Regions from separate parts of the Homo sapiens genome. Here region 1 is linked to region 2. Evidence: promoter capture Hi-C in human tissues and cell types (Jung and others, 2019). All regions are on one chromosome and are shown on one strand. Each heading gives the region's core, a stretch centred on a gene start or on the middle of the fragment in contact. The rest is flanking DNA. Distances are from core to core; before and after follow the strand shown. Region 1 overlaps BMPR1A (bone morphogenetic protein receptor type 1A). Region 2 holds the start of ADIRF (adipogenesis regulatory factor).

Evidence for each region. The method cuts DNA at HindIII sites, captures the fragments that hold promoters and counts their contacts. A contact is called where the count stands out against the background at its distance.
Region 1: a contact is called between a fragment that was not itself captured here and the fragment with the promoter of ADIRF in region 2, in 1 of the 25 tissues and cell types used here (thymus).

The regions. Positions count from the first base shown.
Region 1 is chr10:86,912,604-86,918,684 of GRCh38, reverse strand. It overlaps BMPR1A (bone morphogenetic protein receptor type 1A), which reads right to left. Exons shown (of 13, transcript NM_004329.3): 9 at 1,359-1,551. Among named protein-coding and RNA genes, the nearest start is that of MMRN2, 42 kb to the left of the region's middle. The HindIII fragment of the contact is 5,173 bases long and covers 1-5,071 here.
Region 2 is chr10:86,964,906-86,971,512 of GRCh38, reverse strand. It overlaps ADIRF (adipogenesis regulatory factor), which reads right to left and starts at 3,031. Exons shown (of 3, transcript NM_006829.3): 1 at 2,908-3,031; 2 at 1,251-1,313; 3 at 598-1,037. The coding sequence starts at 2,968. The coding sequence ends at 931. ADIRF-AS1 (ADIRF antisense RNA 1) reads left to right here and starts at 273. Exons shown (of 2, transcript NR_170185.1): 1 at 273-2,471; 2 at 5,185-6,226. LOC124902474 reads right to left here and starts at 108. Exons shown (of 3, transcript XM_047426123.1): 1 at 1-108. The coding sequence starts at 108. AGAP11 (ArfGAP with GTPase domain, ankyrin repeat and PH domain 11) reads right to left here and starts at 1,177. Exons shown (of 11, transcript NR_171046.1): 1 at 598-1,177. RefSeq lists silencers at 1-345, 1,927-2,221 and enhancers at 1-743, 580-1,331, 1,332-2,085, 3,592-4,344, 4,325-4,504 and 3 more. The HindIII fragment of the contact is 7,922 bases long and covers 2,054-6,607 here.

The DNA.
Region 1 (6,081 bases), core at 1,236-3,735, 52 kb after region 2:
GCCACTGCACTCCAGCCTGAGCGACAGAATGAGACTCCGTCTCAAAAAAAAAAAAAAGAAAAGAAAAGGAAAGAAAAGAAAAAGATGACATATTATACAAATAACCTGGAGAATATTATCAACCTACATGATTCTCTAGTAGAAAAGGCTCTCAATTTCAAAGCAAAAAGTGGACACTTTTATAAAATTAAGAATGTTCAACTAAGAGTTAGCTCCTAATTAAGCCAACTCCCATTTGCCCATCAGTGACTCATCACAGCTGCCTTTTCAGTCTGGCTCGTTGACTGCCAGGCCCACAGTCCTGCTCTTTTCCTTTCTCTCCTACCCTCTTCCCTCCAGAAAAAGGTCAGTGAGTGCTATGTACTGAGCTGAACAGTGCTCCCCGACAAAATTCATGTCTAAAATCCATGTCATCTATAAACGTGACCTTATTTGGAAAGAGGGTCTTTGCAGATGTAATCAAGTTAAGATGACTCATACAGGATTAGCGTGGGCCCGAATTCAATGGCTGGTGATGTTGTAAGGTGGAAATGTGGACCCAGGCACCCAGGGAGAAGGCCACCTGATGACAGAAATGGAGACTAGAGTGTTGTCTATACTAAGCCAAGGAACACCAAAAATTCCTGGCCACCAACCAGTAGCCAGAGGAGGCAAGGAAGGCTCCTCCTCTAGAGTATTCAGAGACACAACAGCTCTGCCAACACCTTGGTTTTAAACTTCTAGCCTCGAAAACTGAGTGAATACGTTTTGGAGGTTGAAGCCACCCAGTTTGTGGTAATTGATACAGCAGCCCTAGGAAACTAATACAATTGCCTGCTTGGCAACATGCTATGGGCTCTCCAAATTAAAGGGAGGAAAACAAGAGGTGAAGGGAAAAGAAAACTCAGGATAGCCAGATCGGCTTATGTACCTGACTGACCAGCTCACACCTAAATTACTTTGCTATTGTGTAAATGTGGAGATGGGGGGAAACACACATTAAACACAGAACGTACAATGAAACTGCATGTTGGGCTGTTGAGCTTATGAAAGGGAAAAGGCACATATGTTAATGTTACCCTAAATCACTGCTTAAGTTATCTATAAAAGACTGGGTTTTCATTACTATGGGAGTAAGTCCAATAAACTAGTATTATTTTCCATTTGAAACTCACTGCTGTTTCTTCAGCTGGTTAGTAAAGAAAGATCTTGGTTGGCATTCCGGACTATGTTTTATTCAAACCGTGTATTCTACTAGGTTTCCTTTAGCCAAATGTATATAGTTGAACTCACACATTTTCAAAGCACATATGGAGGCTTCCACCTGTACCTCACTAGCCTTGTCAAAAATGAAATTGACTGAATCAGTGTGTACCCACCAAGTATGTTTTCATGGCGCATTAGCACAGTTTGGTAGATTTCTGTTTCTCGAAACCAGCTGGCTTCTTCAGTGGTAAAGAATACTTTCACCGCCACTTTTTCGCCACGCCATTTGCCCATCCATACTTCTCCATATCGGCCTTTACCAACTTGCCGGACCATCTGAATCTGTTTGGCAATAGTTCGCTGAACCTTTATAGAAAAAAGTAAAAGGTTTGAGCTCTTGATGAAAGAAACCCATTAAGACTGGCAAAGGGGTAGTCCATCTCATCAAAAAGCATGGTGTACCCAACCAACTCCAGTTAAAAACTTATAATGTACTTTTTTTTTTTTGAGATGGAGTCTCGCTCTGTCACCCAGGATGGAGTGCAGTGGCGCGATCTCGGCTCACTGCAACCTTCACCTTTTAGATTCAAGTGATTCTCCTGCCTCAGCCTCCCAAGTAGCTGGGATTACAGACACCCGCCACCATGCCCAGCTAATTTTTTTGTATTTTTAGTAGAGATGGGGTTTAGCCACGTTGACCAGGCTGGTCTTGAACTCCTGACCTCAGGTGATCCACCCCACCCCCGGCCTCCCATAATGCTGGGATTACAGGCGTGAGCCACCATGCCCGGCCATAATGTACTTTAAAGTATGAAACAATGTACAATGTATTCTGAAATCATAAACAGGTTATTCAAGTGGCTGGCTGTTTGCAAAAATGGTCATAATAATTACCCTCCCAGTGCACACAGTCGTGGGTAGTCTTGGTCCACAGACTCAGGGCTTAGGCCACATGACTTGCTTTGGATAAAAGAACAACAGCGAACGTGATGCAAGCAAAGACCTGACAAATGTTTGTGGACTGGGGCTTGCCCCCTTCCTGCTGCTTTGGGAACCCTGTGACCAAAAAATAATGGCAGCATGAACTGTCGGCCAAGGGTGTGAACTACACCACCTAGCTCTAGCTAAGCAAGTCCAACAAATGAACTGCCCCACAGACTCACAGAATGAGAAATAATGTTTGTTGCTTCACATCACTAAGTTTTGGGGTGGTTTATTATGCAGCAAAGTCCAAATAACAGTTAAAGATCTTAAAAATCCCATCTATAAGACCCTGCCTGATCTGGCCTGGTCCCATTATTTGCTTTGACCACCCACCCACAAACCTCGTTTGACTTATCTCAACTTTTAGAATTCACTCAAGCTTATTCCTGTCGCTGGGTTTTTTTGAATATCCAGTTCCCTTTACTTAGAGTGCTATTTTCTCACTTAAACACCTTCATAGCACACAAAACCTCTCAGTTGCTGCGCTTAACACAATCATAACTTTATTCTTATTTACATATATATTTGCTTGAATTCCATCCCCTGCTCACAGAATATAAGTATTTATTTGGGACAATATCAGAAGTACTTTAATATTTGTTAAATAAAAGATGTACATGGATTGTTATCTTTCATTTTCAGAAGCATTAGTGATCATTCTAAATTAAAAAGAACATTATGCTCCAAGTTGGAAATGCTTCTAAAATGGACTAGATTTAGTGCAAAGCTAAAGTGACTTTATGTATCATTTATTATAGAATCCTTTTGTAAATTTTGTTCTGTTTTTTTGAGACAGAGTCTCGCTCCGTTGCTCAGGCTGGAGTGCGGCGGCCAATCTCAGCTCACTGCAACTTCTGCCTCCCCAGTTAAAACAATTTCCTGCCTCAGCCTCCCGAGCAGCTGGGATTACAGGCATCTGCCACCACGTCCAGCTAATTTTTGTATTTTTAGTAGAGACAGGGTTTCACCATGTTGGCCAGACTGGTCTCGAACACCTGACCTCAAGTGATCTGCCTGCCTCAGCCTGTAAGTTTTTAAGTCAAGATTATTGAGGTATAATTTATATAAAATGTACCCTTTTTGAGAAAAGTTCAACAAGCCTTGGACAAATCTATATCATGTAATCACCAATACCACAATTAAGATACAGAATATTTTAATAACGTAAAAAAATTCTCACTTTTTGGCCAGGCGTGGTGGCTCACGCCTGTAATCCCAACACTTTGGGAGGCCGAGGCGGGTGGATCACCTGAGGTCAGGAGTTCAAGACCAGCCTGGCCAACATGGTGAAACCCTGTCTCTACTTAAAAAAAAATACAAAAATTAGCTGGGCATGGTGGTGCATGCCTTAATCCCAGCTACTTGGGAGGCTGAGGCAGGAGAATCACTTTTGTGTAGCCTTTTGTGTCTGGCTTCTTTCATGTAGCATAAAGTACTTTTGAAATTCACCCACTGTTGCTGCTACATGTGTTAGAAGTTGTTCCTTTTTACTGATGAGTAATATTCCACTGTATGAATGTACCAGCATTTGTTTATTCATTTAGCAATTCATGAGCTTTGGGGTTGTTTCCAGTTTATGTCTATTATAAATAAAACTGCTATAAACATTCACATTCAGGCCTCTGGTGTGGACAAGTTTTCATATCTCTTGGGTAAATAATTAGCAGAAGGATTGCTTCATTGTACGGAAAGTATGCCCTTAACTTTCCAGGCAATTGTCAAACTATTTTTCAAAATAGCCATACCATTTTGCATTCCAACCAGCAATGTATGAGATTTCTAGTTGATCTACATCTTTGGCACCACTTAATATTATCAGTCTTAGCTATACTAGTGGATGTGCAGTAGTATCTTACTGTGTTTAATTTGTATATCCCTGCTGATGCTGAGCATCTTTTCATGTGCTTGTTTGCCATTCTTATATCTTCTTTGGGGAAGTGTCTGTTCAAATCTTTTGTCCATTTTTTAAAAAAATTGGGTTATCTTATTATTGAGTTGCAAAAGGTCTTTATATATTTTGCACAAAAACCCTGTATCAGATCTGTTTTGCCAATCTGTGACTTGTCTTCTCATTTTCTTGTCTTCTAAATAGCAGAAGTTTTAAATTTTGATAAAGCCTGATTTATCATTAAAAAAATGATTTGTGTTTTTTATGTACTGAAGAAGTCTGCCCAAGGTCAGAATAATTTTTTCAGACATTTTCTTTTAGAGGTTTTATACTTCAACTTTTACATTTAGGTCTATGCTACATTTCAAGTTAATTTGGTATAGAGTGAGGAGGTAAGGACTGAGATTAACTTCTTGGTAAATGGATTCCTGATATTTCCTGCACCATCTGTTAAATGGACTGCCTTTTTCCAATTGAATTACTTGGGCATCTTTTTGTTTTTTTTTTTTTAATCAATTAACCATATTAAGTGCATGTTCCTTTCTAAACTCCATAATCTGTTCCATTCATCAATACATCTATCCTTATGCCAGTACCAAATTGAGATCATTATTGAGTTTTACGGTAAGTCCAGAAATCAGGTAGTGATTCCTCTTTGTTCTTCTACTTCAAAATTGTTTTGGCTCTTCTAGTCCTTTGCATTTCCATATAAATGTTAGAATATACATCAATTGCTATAAAAGTTTGCTCTGATTTTCATTTGGATTCGAATGAAATTACACACCAATTTGAGGAAAACTGAAATCTTAATACTGAGTCCTCAGATTTATAAACATCTCCACTTATTTAGGGCTTTATTAATTTCTTTCAGCAATGTTTTATAATTTTCAGTGTGCAGGTCTTGCATAAATTGTTAGGCTTATTCTAAATATTTCATGGTTTTTGATGCTATTTTAAATACTGTTTTTATAATTACCTAATTGTTTGTTGCTAGAGCCTATAAATTCAATGGTATTTGTACAATGACTCTGTATTCTGCAACCTGATAAAGTCATTTACTGGCTGCAGTAGTTTTATTGTACCATTCTTGGGATTTTCTACGTAAACAATCATGTTGTCTGCCTATGAAGGCAGTTTTACTTTTACCTTTCCAATTCAATTAGAGTTATTTAATAAGATGAATTTCAAAATTAGAGATCAGGGTGGGTGCGGTGGTTCACACCTGTAATCCCAGCACTTTAGGAGCCAAGGTGGAAGGATCAGTTGAGGCCAGGAGTTTGAGACCAGCCTGGCCAACATGGAGAAACCTCATCCCTCAAAAAAAAAAAAAAAAAAAAATTAGCCTGGTGTGGTGGTGCATCTGGTAATTCCAGCTACTTCGGAGGCTGAGACGGGAATTGCTTGAACTTGGGAAGCAGGGGTTGCAGTGAGCCGAAGACTGGGCCACTGCACTCCAGCCTGGGTGACAGAGCAAGACTATCTCGATACGATTAAAATAAAATAAAGTAAAATAAAATAAAATAAGAAGAGATCAGTTTCTTTCAACTAATACAATTAAAAACTTAAACCTATCTGGATATCTAGTGTTCATAATACAGGTCCTCTCAAATAAGAGTTCCTTCAACCCAAAACTGAGTATTTCCATATATAAATGAACCTGCTGGGATTATTTTTTTTTCCCTGATACCAAGAATCCATCCAAATTTGTTGGAATTTATTTGTAATTCCCTTTAAAATTATTTTTTATTGAACTATGTGTTTTGGTAGTAGTATATTGAGAGAAGCATCCTCTCTAAGAATATCTGTTGAAACTTCTTTTTTATTTCAGAATCTGAAATAGTTACAGTTCCCTCAATCAATCAGTTTAAACTTACAGATGCAAGGAATCTTATACCTGATTCCTCTTTAAGTTGGCTGGTAAAATGCTTAGAGCAAAACTTGTGAGCTAACTCTTGCCTTTCATATAGGACTTCGTGATCTAACTTCCCCTGCCTTTCTCTGTAGGACTTGGTTCCTATAACCTG
Region 2 (6,607 bases), core at 1,782-4,281:
TCCGGAACCCACTAGACAAAACCTTCCAGGGCCGGAGGTTACCGGTTTGTCCCGAAAGGAAGTGGTGTGGAAGGGAGGGGTCTCCCGCACGCGAGCGCGCACGTGCATGCCCCCCCCACAACCGTGCTTCGTTCTCACGTGCACGGCCCCGTGCCCCGAAGCCCCTCCCCGGGGAGTGGCGGGGCGGGACCCCGCCGGGCGGCAGCGCCCCACTCAACAAAGCTTCCCGCGGGCCCTGCCCCATGACTCACCGCTGGGTGGGGCGGGCACGCAGGCAACCCGCGGGCCGAGACGGGGTAGTGAGGGCCGGAAGCCCGGCTCCCGACTCCGCTTCGTCCCCACAACCTCCGGCCGCCTGAAGTCCTGAGGGGCCGTGGCCCTGGGTCGTCTCCCCTGTTCCCAGCCTCCAGTCGCAGCTGGCGGAGAGAAGTTCCCGAGGCCCCCCCGACTTGCAAGGTCCCTTGCCCCGCCCAGAGCTGAGCCTTCCGAGGATCTGAGGACCGAGTCCAGCCCAGCTCCCAGGAGGGGCCGGGATCCTGGGGCAGGGAATAAGGGGCAGGGGCTGGCTCTAAAGTCGGGCGGGAGAGGGGCACTAACCGAGATGGGGGCTGAGCCTCCGGTCTGGGAGCTTCGGGAGGCGCGTGGCGGGATGGAAAACATTCCTGAGACCGTTGGATTGGATTTCCGAATTTGGGAGGCTAGGACTCCGGCTACGGTGGCTCTGCTCTTGGGATGAGAGGACTGGGCCCAGCTTGCGAGGAATCATGAAGTGGACACAGGGTGGGAACGTGAATTTTAATGAGGGGGCAGACCGAGGAGGTGGTGGCTGCCCGGAGATCAGGGCCAGGCTGTGCTAGATGGCGCCTGGAAGGGGGGTCACCCAAGTCTCCCTGCTGTCATTTCAGGAGGCCGACCCAAGTCTCCCTGCTGTCATTTCAGGAGGCCGAATTTTTTCCCAATCCCAGAGAAGGTGTCAGAGGCCTGGTTAGCAGTCTTGTCGATGGTTTCCTGGGTGGTCTTGGCCAGCTGGTCCATGGCTGGGGAAGGGCGGGAGAGAGGGCAGGTCAGGCAGGGCCCGGGAACCACAGTGCCTGTAGGCTTAGCCTGGCCTGGGTCTCCCGGGGGACCTGCTTGGGGCATTGTGGACAGAGGGCTCTGCAGAGGAGAGGATGTGCCTGGGCCCCAGCCGGGATGGGGCGGGGAGTGGGAGGTGTGCTGGGGTTGCCCGCCTCCCTCCAGCCCCACCAGACCTTTCTGCCCCGCCTCTGTGGCCTGGTCCACCACTTGCTGAGCTGCCGCTCCGGCCGCTGACACTGGAACAGAGAGATGTGGCTTTTAGCCCCTGTTGAGGCACCACCGACTACAGGTGCCCCACCATTGCCATGCCTCTGTGTCCTCCAGAGTATTCGGTGGTACAGGTCCAAGGGATGGATGCCATGGAGATAAAGTCCCTGGCCCAGGGCCCCCCAGCCCGAGGGGCAGGAGACCTTTCCATGCCTCTGGGATGTTTTTGTTTATTTCTAACTCTGAGCTCCTTCTCTGTGGGGGAGGAGCTTCCCTTTCCATCTCCAGGGCTACTGAGAAAATGTTGGACAGAGGAAGGAAGGCAGGGCAGGGCCAGGCTGCAGCTAGCATCTGGACTGTTGGCTAATGCTGGTGATGGCGCAGAAGACCCTTGCCCCCTTTTACAGCTTCTCCCCTAGAAGCCTGGCCCAGATGCCTGAATTCCCACCTTTCATGCACTTAGCCCTGGGGCTTGCAGTTTTGCCAGGTCCTTACTGCCTCCTCCCTCCTGTGGCCTGCCCGGAGGGGCACACAAGCAAAGCCAGTGCCTCTGTGGACAGGCAGCTTAAGACATTAGGAGACAAATGAAGGAAGGAGGCAAAACTTCCAAGGCCGGACTATCTCCTCTGGACCAGAGTTTCGGCCTGCTGGGAATGGAGTCACCAGCCCCGGGGGGGCTGACAGGTGGCTCCCGCCTACAGAGCTGTAACTCATCCCTGCTGCTGAACAGGAAAGGGCCTGCCTTACCCAGATCCCATCCTCCGGAAAGGGTTAGTCAGGCAAGTGTGCTGAGAGGCCCCTGGGAACCTCGTCTCGATTAACCCATCAGAAAGCAGCCCATCCTTTGCACCCAGCTCTCAGATGGAAAAGTGAAGCCCAGAAGGAAGGGACCTGACACGGAGGCTTCCTTGGTAGCATTTCAGTCTCAAGGGAAGAACTGTGGGCCTCCCCTGGAGCACTGGTGAAGTAAGGGGTTGGTTTGGATATTGTCTCCTGACTGGGATATGGGCAGGACTGACAGGGAGCTGGAGTCCTAACGAAGCCTGGGCTAGGTGCAGGAAGAACCAACCCAGTGGTCTCCTGACATCTCCCACGCCCCCACCGCAGCTGGGTCACCTCCAGAATACGGAGGAGAGAGCTGGAGGTGGAGGAACTAAGGACCTTCTTTGCCAGGTGGGGACTTAAAGGTAAGGCGACGATTACTTTTCGGCGATGGGGGTGGGATGGAAACAAAGCCCTTTGAGGTCTGGGGCAGCCTCTGGTGGCGCGCGCGGGTTTAAGTGGTGGCGGGCCGCGCCCGATCCCTGTCCTGGACCTTCACCCTCTCCTGAGGGCCTGGGCGGGCCGCCCAGCGCCAGCATGGCCTCCTTGGAGGGGCTCCCGCAGTGCCCGCAGCGCAGCTCCGGCTCCTCCGGAGCCTCTGTTCCGCTGCCTCCCTGCGGGCACCATCTGTCTGCTCGCCGGGGTGGGCGTTCTGCCTGCCCCCTGCGTCTCAGTGGAGGACCGAGCCTTCCGAGCCAAGCTGCCGGTCCAGGAACTTGCGGACCGCGCCGACCCGCTGCTTCTGCCTGCGCATCCACGCAGGTGCCCCTGCCTGAGCCCTAGGTCGCGCGCTATCCTCACCGGCTTCCTGGGCGGTCCCCTCCACCTGTTGCTTCAGGTCCTGCAAGCCCTTGCTTGCCATGGCTTCGGGGTATCTGTGGAGTCGTCAAGAGCAGCTGGAGCGACGTTGGATCCTGCCCAGAGTGGCGATGCCAAGCGCCAGCTCCGGTTTTTAAGGCGCCCCAGGGCTGGCCTGCCCCGCGTAGGGGAGAGGGCGCGGGGCGGTTCCCGTCATACAGGCTCCGGGGAGTGGCCGGGCCCTGCTCCAGAGTCCGCAGGGCAGGGAGCACATCCTGGCCTAAGACGGGCCGCGGTGGGAAAGGGGCAGACCGAACCAGGGACCGAAGAGGTGCCAGGACAGGGGTCCAGAGAGGAGCTGGAGGCAGGAGAAGGGCGCACACCACCTCCCAGCTCATCAGCCCCAGCCCTCCCTTTCTGATCCTGGGCGTGAGCGCTGGGTCAGCTCCAGGGCAGGAGCTCAGGGCTGGTGTTGACCTTAATGACAGCAGTGGTCTTTTACTGAGCATTTGTCTTGTGCCAGGTGCTGCCTAACGCTCTGCAGTCTCTTGTATAATCTTTACAACCACCTCCTGAAGTGGGTATTTTTGTTGATAGCATCAGTGTATAGGAGGAAACTGAGGCAGTGAGGTCGGTCTCACCCAAACGCATGTGGCAGGGACTTGGATCCTCGAATCTGCCTAGGTGCCTGTAAACCCTAGGGCTCTGGCATCATCGGAGCCCCCAGCCCCAAACAGCTGCAGGGGCACTGCTGACTGGCTCTCTGCCTGTAGCCAGAGACCCAGTGGATGCAGCCGGAGAGGGCCTGGTAAATCTTTCCCCTGAGAGGGCGAGATACAGGTGTGTGCACTTGCAGACCATGCAACCCCAAGGGGGAGAGGGCAGTGTGCCTGTGCAGCCCAGGCAAGGAGATTGCCGTCTGTCACCGAAGCCTTAGGAAGTTGGGCAGGAAGCATGGCTCAGGGAGGGCAGGAATAAGCTTGGGCCTCTCAGGTCACCTTTCCTGAGATGGGGCAGGCAAGGCGCTAGAGAGTATGACTTGTGGCTGTTAGGAGGGGACTTAGGGACCTGGGCCTGAGTGGAGAAGATCATCCTTGGGTGCAGCAAAACAGCTTGCAAGATACATTCCCCTGGCACACAAGGGGTGTAGGTCAGGCCCCACCCAGCTGGGTATACTCCCACTCCAGAGTAGGCCTTCAGGACCTGGAGGCCAGTGCACACCCACCCTGCCTTTCTGGGTCTCTCTACCGCTTCCTGTCCGGGGCTGTTTCTTGCACCTCTGCTGGTGTCTCCCCTATTCTGGAGCGCTGGGAAGCCCCTGCCACACAGGCTTGGTCTGCTGGCACATACCCTGCTTCTAGTGCTGCGGGGTCAGCCCCTAGAGGGAGTTGTTTGGAAGTGCACCTGTACACACACACACACACACACACACACACACACACACACACACACACACACGGTATGGATTAATGGAGATGAGGTCAACCCTGGGCAAAGGGAAGAGGCAGGTGATGAGATTAGGTGGAGGAAGGGGGAGGGAGCAGGTCTCAGGCAAAACAAAGCGGCAGCAACAGTCCTCCCAGCCCCCCGCCCCTCCTCTCCCAGAGCGAGGCCTTGCCCTGGGAGCGGCCATATGGATGCCTTGGGGACTCTGGGGAGCCCATCTCAGCCATGCCCTGCCTGGCTGGCCACAGCCCTGCCAGCCCTCCTGAAATCCCACCGGTAGTGCCCAATAGCCAGGCAGGCCTTCGAGTGTTCCAGTTTATCACAGGCTGGTGGTGCCACTGGGCTCCAGGCCCCATGGGCAATGAGCTGTGAGCTGGACAGGAAGGGAGCAGCCTCTGTGGGAAGAGACAGCCAGCCCCCAGCAGATGGTGGTAGAGAGAGCTCCACGTGGCCCTAGCGGCAGGCACTACAGTCAAACCTCTTGGGTTCAGATATTCTTAGAGCAAGCCCCTCACTTCTCTGAGCCTCAACATCCCCATCACATCACAGCGTCTCCCCAAAGTGTGTGTGTGAAGATTAAATTGGCTGAAGGGTGCCCAGGACTCAGCAGTGGACCTTGTGAGAGCGTGCAGGGCACCAGGGCTTCTCAGACAAGGAGAGGCAGAAGGAGGGAGCGCATTACCGCATTACCGTTTCCCCCACCCCCGCCCCAGTTTGCTGTGGTGTCACTTTTTTTTTTCCCTTTTTTTGTTTTTGGAGACAGAGTTTTGCTCTTGTTGCCCAGGCTGGAGTGCAATGGCGGGATCTTGGCTCACTGCAACCTCTGCCTTCCAGGTTCAAGCAGTTCTGCCTCAGCTTCCTGAGTAGCTGAGATTACAGGCATGAGCCACCACCCCCAGCTAATTTGTGATTTCGCTTTCTGCAGTTTCAGTTACTCATTGTTGGGGCTCAGAAACCAATACCCCGAAATATAGTGGTGTGACATTCTGAACTGAAGAAGCCTTAAGGTCTCTCCGACCAGACTCCCACAGGCCCCCCAACCCTTTGTCTCTTCCAAAGCATACAGTGAAGTTGTTCTCTGAAGTTCCTCATCTGCCTTAAGTCTGGACCCACCAAAGAAGAAAACAATGACCACTGGTCCCTTCCCGGAGTTTTCTCTGACTGAACTGCTGTCACAGGAAGAAAGACTGAAGCCTGCTCACATACCTGGACAGATTTTGCAAACCGTTGTCTGCTCTGTGAGCCCAACAGACTTTGTCCCAGGCCACTGTATGTTCTTCAAGCCCACTGAATTCCCCTGAAAATCATTTACTAGCCCCCTGAAATTACCCACACTTCCCCATTGCTCATCTGTACCCCATTTCGTGGTGGGGCAGTCACTCTGATTTCCCCTTGCATGCTAATGAATGTGTATTCCATTTCTATTCTGCTTTCATGAGCTGACTTTTCAGTGAACCTTCAGAGGGTAAAGGGGAAGTTTTCCCTTGGCCCCTGCACCGCAATTGGTAAGGTCCAAAATGTTAAATGGAAAATTCCAGAAATAGCTGGTCGTGATGGCTCCTGCCTGTAATCCCAGCACTTTGGGAGGCCGAGGTAGGTGGATAGCTTGAAGTCAGGAGTTCGAGACCAGCCTGGCCAACATGGTGAAACCCTGTCTGTACTAAAAGTACCAAAATTAGCTGGGCGTGGTGGCGCACGCCTGTAGTCCCTGCTACTTGGGAGGCTGAGGCAGGAGAATCACTTGAACCTGGGAGGCAGAGGTTGCAGTGAGCAGAGATCGCACCACCACTCCAGCCTGGATGACAGAGTAAGACTCCGTCTCAAAAAAAAAAAAAAAAGAAAATTCTAGAAATAAACAATTCATGTTTTAAATAACTTTCATTACAGTATATTGTTATAATTGTTCCGTTTTCTTACTGGTTATTGTTAGTCTATTACTGTGCCTAATGTATAAACTTCATCATAGGGAGGCACATGTGTACGTGTAGGAAGATACATATGTAGGCTTTGGTACTATCTGGGGTTGCAGGCAGCTGGAAACATCTTGAGTGTATCCTGGTGGATAAGGGGAGTCAACCGTGCTCCTGCAGGGAGGTCAGAAGCAGCCTCACAGGGTGCAGAGCACATGAGGTTTCAAAGGCAAAGAGCACTGCCAGTGCCCATGGCTGGGAAGGGGCTTTCTGGTGATGTTTGTCATTTGAGTCCAGGAACAAGCCCTGAGTGTATGTGAGAGGGGGTTGTAGGGGGGCTGTGGTAG